Regions from separate parts of the Homo sapiens genome. Here region 1 is linked to region 2. Evidence: promoter capture Hi-C in human tissues and cell types (Jung and others, 2019). All regions are on one chromosome and are shown on one strand. The core of a region is centred on a gene start or on the middle of the fragment in contact, and the rest is flanking DNA. Distances in the headings are between cores, read along the strand shown.

What was found. The method cuts DNA at HindIII sites, captures the fragments that hold promoters and counts their contacts. A contact is called where the count stands out against the background at its distance.
Region 1: a fragment that was not itself captured here is called in contact with the fragment with the promoter of TIMP2 in region 2 in 4 of the 25 tissues and cell types used here (dorsolateral prefrontal cortex, hippocampus, mesenchymal stem cells and 1 more).

The regions. Positions count from the first base shown.
Region 1 is chr17:78,832,666-78,836,879 of GRCh38, forward strand. It overlaps USP36 (ubiquitin specific peptidase 36), which reads right to left. Exons shown (of 21, transcript NM_001385174.1): 3 at 3,446-3,707; 4 at 2,615-2,836. The coding sequence starts at 3,698. Among named protein-coding and RNA genes, the nearest start is that of USP36, 6.0 kb to the right of the region's middle. The HindIII fragment of the contact is 6,692 bases long and covers 1-4,214 here.
Region 2 is chr17:78,922,739-78,926,903 of GRCh38, forward strand. TIMP2 (TIMP metallopeptidase inhibitor 2) reads right to left here and starts at 2,649. Exons shown (of 5, transcript NM_003255.5): 1 at 2,221-2,649. The coding sequence starts at 2,350. RefSeq lists an enhancer at 809-878. The HindIII fragment of the contact is 25,377 bases long and covers 1-4,165 here.

The sequences.
Region 1 (4,214 bases), core at 94-2,593, 91 kb before region 2:
GAAACCAAGAATGGAAGGCAGCTCTACAGTGGAAGAGCCCTGACAGGCCTGGGATAGCAGAGTCTTACTGCCAAAACCATGAGACGAAAACAACAGCCATCTAGTCAAATCTTACTGAAAGTCCACCCAGAACCACCTCAAAATTACCAAGGTCACCACTGGAAATAGGGGCTACAATTAGCCATCTCAACAATGTGCTTCTGCAGGGCACGGTGGCTCATGCCTGTAATCTCAGCACTTTCGGAGGCAGAGGCAGGCAGATCACCTGAGGTCGAGAGTTCAAGACCAGCCTGGTCAACATGGTGAAACTTCGTCTCTACTAAAAATACAAAATTAGCCAGGCGTGGTGGCGGGCACCTGCAGTCCCAGCTACTTGGGAGGCTGAGGCAGGAGACTCTCTTGAACACAGGAGGCGGGGGTTGCAGTGAGCCGAGATTGCACCACTGCACTCCAGCCTGGGCGACAGAACGAGACTCCATCTCCAAAAAACGCCCCCAAACAATGTGCTGCTTCATCTCAACAACTATGCCTTGATAATTAACCTTTGCTGCTATGAAGCCATCGCAATTAGCAAGATGTTTACAAACACTTCCCACTGCATGGCCATCTTGTGTTCTTTTTTTTATGTTTTTTTGAGACGGAATCTTGTTCTGTTGCCCAGGCTAAAGTGCAGTGGTGTGATCTCAGCTCAATGCAACCTCTGCCTCCCAGGTTCAAGTGATTCTCCTGCCTCAGCCTCCCAAGTAGCTGGGATTACAGGTGTGAGCCACCGTGCCCAGCCAGTAGCAGTCACTTCTATAGCACTCCCTCTTTGCGGGCTGCTACTCCAGGCACTTGACTCACTCAGAATTTATCGGAGCCTCACGCAACTCTGTAAGGAAGACAGTCTCATTCTTCCATAGACCAGGGACATTCTCAAAAACTCACAGTTACTAAGGGGCAAACTGGGAAGCAAACCCTACAGGCCAGGCTCCTGAGCTGTGTTTTCAACTGCTCTGCTCCCTCCAGAATTCTACTTAGAGATTTTCTGCGATGAAAACATCCTGCATTCCTAGGATAAACATAAGTTGCTTACAGTTTTTTAGAAACTGTGTCATTTGGTAGTATTTTCCTACAATTTTTATATCTATGTTCGTGAAGAAGTTGTGGTTATCCATTTTCTTTCTCGCATTTTCCTTATTATTGTTATCCGAGTTATAGGAACTTTATAGAATGAGCTGGGAAAGATTCTCTCCTCCTCTATTCTTTGGAAGAACGTGTAAAGGATTGGAATTGTTTCTTAAAAGTTACATAGAAATTGGCTGGGCACAGTGGTTCACACCTGTAATCCCAGCACTTTAGGAGGCCAAGGCGGTTGGATCACCTGAGGTCACGAGTTCAAGACCAGCCTGACCAACATGGTAAAACCCCATCTCTACTAAAAATACAAAAATTAGCCAGGCGTGGTGGCGTGCGTCTATAGTCCCAGCTATTTGGGAGGCTGAGACAGGAGAATTGCTTGCACCCAGGAGGCGGAGGTTGCAGTGAACTGAGATCACACCACCGTACTCCAGCCTAGGCAACAGAGTCCGTCTCAAAAAAAAAAAAAAGTTACACAGAAATAACATTGTCTCTGCTTGGGGTTTTTTATGGGAAGATTTTTAACCAATGCTTTAATTTCTTTAATAGTTAAAAGACTCTTCACTTTCTATTTCTTTCAGTTTTGGTAAGTTATATCTTATTTCACCTCTATTTTAATCAAATAGAGCACACCACCACATCCAGCTAATTGTTTCGATTTGTTTTTTGTGTGTGTGAGATGGAGTCTTGCTCTGTCACCCAGGCTGGAGTGCAGCGGCATGATCTTGGTCAGCTCACTGCAACCTCCACCTTCTGGGTTCAAGCAATTCTCCTGCTTCAGCCTCCCGAGCAGCTGGGATTACAGGTGCACCCCATCACGCCTAATTTTTATATTTTTAGTAGAAACCGGGTTTCGCCATGTTGGCCAGGCTGGTCTCCAACTCCTGACCTCAAGTGATCTGCCCACCTCTGCCTCCCACAGGTGTGAGCCACCGTGCCCGGCCTTGATTTGTTTTTGTAGAGATGGGATCTTGCTGTGTTGTCCAGGCTGCACGTTTTATAATACACATAAGATATGCTGATACAACAACAGATGCATAAAACAATTGGGCTAGGCATGGTGGCTCACACTTATAATCCCAGCACTTTGGGAGGCTGAGATGGGAGGATCATGTGAGCCCAGGAGTTCAAGACTACAACGAGTTGTGATGGAGCCACTGCATTCCAGCCTGGGTGTCAGAGCAAGATACTGTCTCTAAAAAAATAATATTTGTATATATATATATATATATATTTTGGAAGTATCTTTTGAAAACGTTTCTGTCTGGGTAATTATTTACAGAAAAGCTTGGCGAACACAGCCCCACCTGACCGATTCACCTTCATGGCCCATTCTGCAGCAGGCATGATTCAAATTTAGGTTTCATCAGTTACTATACATTATGAACTACCCTCCTAAATTTGACCCAGACTGAGAGCAGCAGTGCCACAAGTGCATGGGCTTATCTAATCCAGAGGACCCACAGCCACCCCACTGCTGCAAACCCACACTCACAGCTGCGAGCATGCTCCTTGGAGAGCAGGTAGTTGGCTAGAGGTGGTGTGTAGGTCAAGCACTGGATGGTGGCATTGAGAAAGCAGGTGTTGCCAAGGTTGTGGAGTCCTGCGCCCACGCGGAAGACCCGCTCCCACCTCAGAGACAGTCGCTCCGTGGGGAAAAGCACTTTCTGCGGGGCTGGGACTCCGTCACCACAGCTCTCATACGTGTGCTCACTGCCTGAGGAAGAAAGGGACAAGGGAAGAAAAGAGGAAGACGTAAGTCCACACACAGGTCGTCCACAAAAAGAAACTCCTGAAGCATACACTTAGCATGCAGTGACTCGGAACATGGCACCAGAGAAGAACTGGTGTTCTGGTTTACAGGACATTCCTGGAAAGCTCAGGAGTAAACCCAGCCATCCCACGGACCTCCTAGGCTGCTTGGCTAAAGAATTCAAGGGCCCCTCTATAGATGGAGGACACAGCTCAGAGACTGAGTGGCGGAAGGAGCCAGGCCTGGCACTCTGCACCACACTGTGCCCACATGCAGCCCACCCCATTTCTCTTTCTTAGTTCCAAGCCTGACTTTCGACTGTATTATACTTGGGATAGGGGGACAGCAAGTCCAAGGACCCACCAAGTACACAGATCCACCAAGCACACAGATTTCCTTGCTACCAACCCTGTATCATTACTTCTATAACTGAAATCCACTGACCCCATGTAAAAATTCATAACTCTTTGACCACATTCTCTTGTTTTTCCTACTAATTAGTCAATATTTAAGTCCATCCACTTCGTCACCCCGGAGTGAGGGCCTCTCTGCCAGCACACTGCACATCTGTACCCTGTCTCCTGGCCGGTGGGTCATCTCCACTCTTGTGGCGACTAGCTCCCTCTGTTTTGGGGTTGAGCAACACATATTTGCTCTTTAAGGCCTCCAGCTGGTAGGAGAAGCTCTTGCTGGCTGGCTCGAACTCGATTTTCTGTAAAAGGACCTTCTTGGCAGAGGAGGCAAGAAGCTTCCCCAGTTCTCCATCATCAGCCGAGTCCTTGCGGCCGGGTTTCAGGGCCTCCTTCAACTTATCCACTATTGGCATGGTGCATCACTGTGGGGACAAGAAGAAACATAGAGCCATAGATAACGAAATCCCGGGACAAAAACATCTCTTAAGATCTCCTCTTTGGTCATTATGGATGCTAGCCACCACAAAAGCTCCCCTGGATCAGTGATCCCCTGGATCAGCTGCACAAAGGAAACAGGGAGACCCAGCACTAATCACTTGGACATATTAGTTCACATTTCCCCCACAAAAAGATAAGATGCCACTACAAATAGAGGTGAGCAGACAACAGTGGCCCTGAGGCAGCCAGACAGCCCCTGCCATGTGCATCTCTTCATCAGATACTCATCAAGTGGCTCTGGACATCATTCTTGGTGCCATTTCCTTCCAAAGGTCATCACGTGGTCCAAATGTCTGCTCCAAAACAGGGGCACACTAATTCTCACATACAAACTGGTTATACACACACGGACACACACACACACACACACAAACGGACACACACACACACACCCACGCAATAAATGAATTAGCATGCAGGTCAGATGAGCA
Region 2 (4,165 bases), core at 1,399-3,898:
AACCCAGGAGGCGGAGGCTGCAGCGAGCCGAGATTGCGCCATTGCACTCCAGCCTGCTCTCCAAAAAAAAAGAACAGGGAAATTTGGACACAGAGACACACGAGAGAAGGCCATGTGAAGACAGGCGGAAATGGAAGTGATGTGTTCCTTGAAAATGGAACCAAGCAACATCAAGGAGAGAGGCCTGGAAGAGATTCTCCCTCACAGCCCCCAGAAGGAACTGGCTCTGTGGACACCTTTTCAGACTTCTGGCCTCCTGAGCTACAGAGAATCGATTCCTGTTCTTTTAAGCCCTCCCATTTGTGGTAGTTTGTCACAGCGGCCACAGGAAGCGAATGCCCTGAGCTCTGCAGTGCAACTCTGGCATCTGACTGGGCCTCTGAGCCGGGATGGGGTGAAAAGTTTTAGCTACAGGATGATTTTGATGCAAAGATTTAGACACAAATGCCAGGCAACCCAGAAGAGGAGAGTGCTGCGCTGAGCATGAAGGAGGCGGGAGGCACGCACTGCAGCCCTCCACCCTCTGCCATCCTGGATCCACACCCCACGCAGAAACAGCTCCCAGCTCAGTGGCCGCCTTAACTTATGCCAAGCAAGGACAGAGTGGCTGCCTGGACATTCTCCCACACAGCTGAGGAGTGTGTGTGTGGGGCGGGGTGGGGGGGGGGGCGGGAGGGGGAGGGGTCCCAAGGCCCAACTCCTACAAATCCAACTCCCAGGTCCTTTTATCCACAGCCTCCTTCTGGGCCTTGGCTACATCCTGCCCCAGCACGTGCTGGTGAGCCAAGGAGCCTGGACAGGCCTGCACTCCTCGTGGACCCCCAGAGAAAGGCCCATTATGGCTCCCTCATCAAAGGAACCTCTCCTTCACCCACAAATCTTGCTGAGCACCAAGGCTAAACTGGAGAAAAGACCTCATTTCCCCCAAACTGGGTTTTGTGGAAACTGACACAGGCACACACCAAGCCTTCCGCCCAGGTGGCCTGAGCCACCTGAGACCTGTGATCTCAATAGATTGGTGCAACTGAAAACTTCCCCAGCTGGGCACGCAGCTCCTAGGGCTAACCGGGGTGGGGCAAGAAGCCGTGGGCGGGGTATGGGAAGGGCGTGGCTGACAGCAGGAGAAACAGAAAGTCCCACCTCCACTCTGGGCAGGTGAGGGGGCCCCCGCCTTGCTCCATCTGCCCTGGACAGGTCACTCGACTGAGACTCAGACATAAGAAGGAAGGAGGGCAGGGGGCTCCGAGACCACCTGCCGTGTAGCCAGACTTGCCCCAGGAAAACCATGCTGACCAGCACCAGGGCTGCAGAGGCTTGAGGTGCAGGACCAGGGTGGAAACTTCGAGCCAGCGGGTTCCTCCCATTTCTGCTGGTCCTCCCCCTCCATGGATCAGAACAAATAACTGGGCCCCTCCTGCCTCCCTCCATGGCGCCTGTCTTTTGGGGGCTAGGAGTCCGGAGGTCATGGGTATTTGCTGGGGAATCTGAGCAGCAGCACAGTCCCACGTGCCGGGTCCGGTCACCAAAGTCTCCAGCTTTTGTGGACGTCCCGAAAAAGCGGAACATTCGGGGGTCCCGGTCCCTGCCCAGCCAGTTTGCAGGGCCTCCTGGGCAGGGCGCAAGCAAGGAGCCACGCCAGGAGACGCCACCGGCTTTTTCACCTGCCCCTCTGGGCCTGTGGAACCTGCCTCGGGTAGGGCGGGCTTCCATCCCACCCTGGCTTGATCGGGGAGCCCCCAAATGGGGCTGGTGGGAGAAGCCCCAGCAGAGAAGCCCTTCCCCACCCAGCCCCAAGCCCAGAGAAGCCCAACTCCCACCTTATCTGCGAAAGTTTCTTCCTGGGGTCCCCAGTCCTCCAGCCCCCCGCCCCCACGCCGTGTCCCCCACGCTCCCCGCCCCCAGCGCTGGCATCCCAGGGCGCGCCGCCTGCCAAAAGCCAAACTGGCTCCCTTTCCTGGGGCTGGAGCTGCGGCGGAATTTCGGTGGAATTTTGAGGTTGAGACGCATCTCGGCAAAGAGAGGGAAAGAAAGGGAGAGGAGGGAGGGGGGAAAGAAAGTCGGCTCTGGGCGTCCACTTGCAGGATTCGAGAAGGCGCCGAGGGACCAGGAGGCGGGCGCTGGGGTCCCTCGGCCAGCGGCGGGCGGGCGGGGCGTCTGCGAACCCTCGGGGTCGCGGGGGAGGTGGGGCCCCGCGCGGGGGCTGGGGTCGCCGCTCCTTACCTACATCTGCATTGCAAAACGCCTGTTGCGGGTGCACCGGGGAGCAGCTGCAGGCGTCGGCCGGGCGAAGCAGCGTCGCCAGCAGCAGGAGGCCGAGCGCCAGCCGCAGGGTGCGGGCCGCGGCGCCCATGGCGGGCCGGGGGGCTGGGCGGGCGGGGGCCGCCGCTGGGGGGTCCGGGCGCTGCTCGCGGCGGCGGGCTGGGGGCGCGGGCGGGGGCTGAGCCGGGGCCGAGGCGGGCCCCTCCCGCGCGGCTCACCCTCCTCACCTGCCCCGCTCGGCCGCGCAAACTTTCTCTCCTCTTTGTCTCGGGGGCGCGAGGGGAGGGGCGCGGGGCGCAATTCGCCGGGCGGGGCGGCGGGGTGGGGGGCGGCGGGCGAGCGGCGCTGCGGTTCTCGGCGGCCGCGCTGCCTTCTACGGATGTGTTTGCTGCGGGCTTGGGCCGGGCCGCAGTTTTATTGCGCTCGGAGGATTTTCTGCTCCTCCTCCCGGTGGCTGGCGGCCAATGCAGGCTCTGGGCGCTCCCAGCAGCCCCCTCCTCCCCCTCCGCCCGCGCCTCCCCCCAGCCCGCGCTTTTGTTGTGCCCGGCCTGGCACGTCGGGGGCTTCCCGCACCACCTGGCGCCCGCGACCCGCACCCGCGCGGGGGTCCCCGGACGCCCCCAGCCCCCCGACCCCGGTCCCCGCTGCGTGGCCTTCTGCGCCCGGGGTCCCTGACTCAGCGCGGGGGACTCGCGCCCCGTTCTTCCAGGACACCAGGCGACCCACCCGCTACCCTTTCCCCTTCAGCTCGACTCTGGAGGGCTACGCTGCTCCGTCCCCCGCCACCCCGGGGTCCCTTCGAGCCCAGCCTCGGGGCGAGCCAAGGGGTGTCCTTTGGAGCAGGGGCCGTTCCCTGTCGCCACCTCCCCGTTTCTGTGGGCGGGTGGCCTATTGAGAAACTGACAGGATCCCTTTTTCAAATGGAGGCCTTAGAATTTTAAGTGCGCCTGGCCAGTTTAGTTGGGGGGTGGGGGGTGTGGTTACTGTGAACAAAACAGGATTTTATATAAACTGGCCATATTTTTGACCAGCCAACAAGAGACGGGGGTGGGCCCAGGCGCCCAGGAGCCAGTAGGATCGCAGCAGAGGCATTGGCTGGGTTCCGCTCACAGTTTCCTCTCTTAGTCCACAAATGTGGGAGCCGAAGGACTTTTCCCAAAACAGTTTTGTGTTCCAGGAAAGACCCAGGCATATGAAGGGATGAACATGTGTAGGGTGGTGAGGCGGGCTTCCTGGCTGTGAACCTGCCTGTGCCCGGCTGTGGGCACCCACCCTGTACATTTGGTGTGTGCCCCGTGGGGCTCCATGGACACTGCTGCACTCAGGTCAGCACTCCAGCCCTCAGGTCAGCATTCCAGAGTGTTTGCAGTCCAGCTAGGGAGAGGGAAGCCCAGGAAAATGACACAGGAAGAATCAGGGCGGGCACGGTGGCTTGCGCCTGTAATCCCAGCACTTTGGGAGGCCGAGACAGGAGGATCACTTGAGGCCAGGAGTTTGAGACCAGCCTGGCTAGCATTTAGTAGAGACAGTGAAACCCCGTCTCTACTAAAAATACAAAAAATTAGCCGGGCTTGGTGGTGGGCGCCTGTAGTCCCAGCTACTCGGGAGGCTGAGGCAGGAGAATGGCATGAACCCAGGAGGCGGAGCTTGCAGTGAGCCGAGATCATGCCACTGCACTCCAGCCTGGGGGACAGAGCGAGACTCCATCTCAAAAGAAAAAAAAAAAAAAAAAAAGCCCGGGTGCAGTGGCTCATGCCTGTAATCCCAGCACTTTGGGAGGCTGAGGTGGGCGAATCACGAGGTCAGGAGTTCGAGACCAGCCTGGCGGCTAACACGGTGAAACCCCGTCTCTATTAAAAACACAAGAAATTAGCCGGGCGTGGTGGCGCGCGCCTGTAGTCCCAGC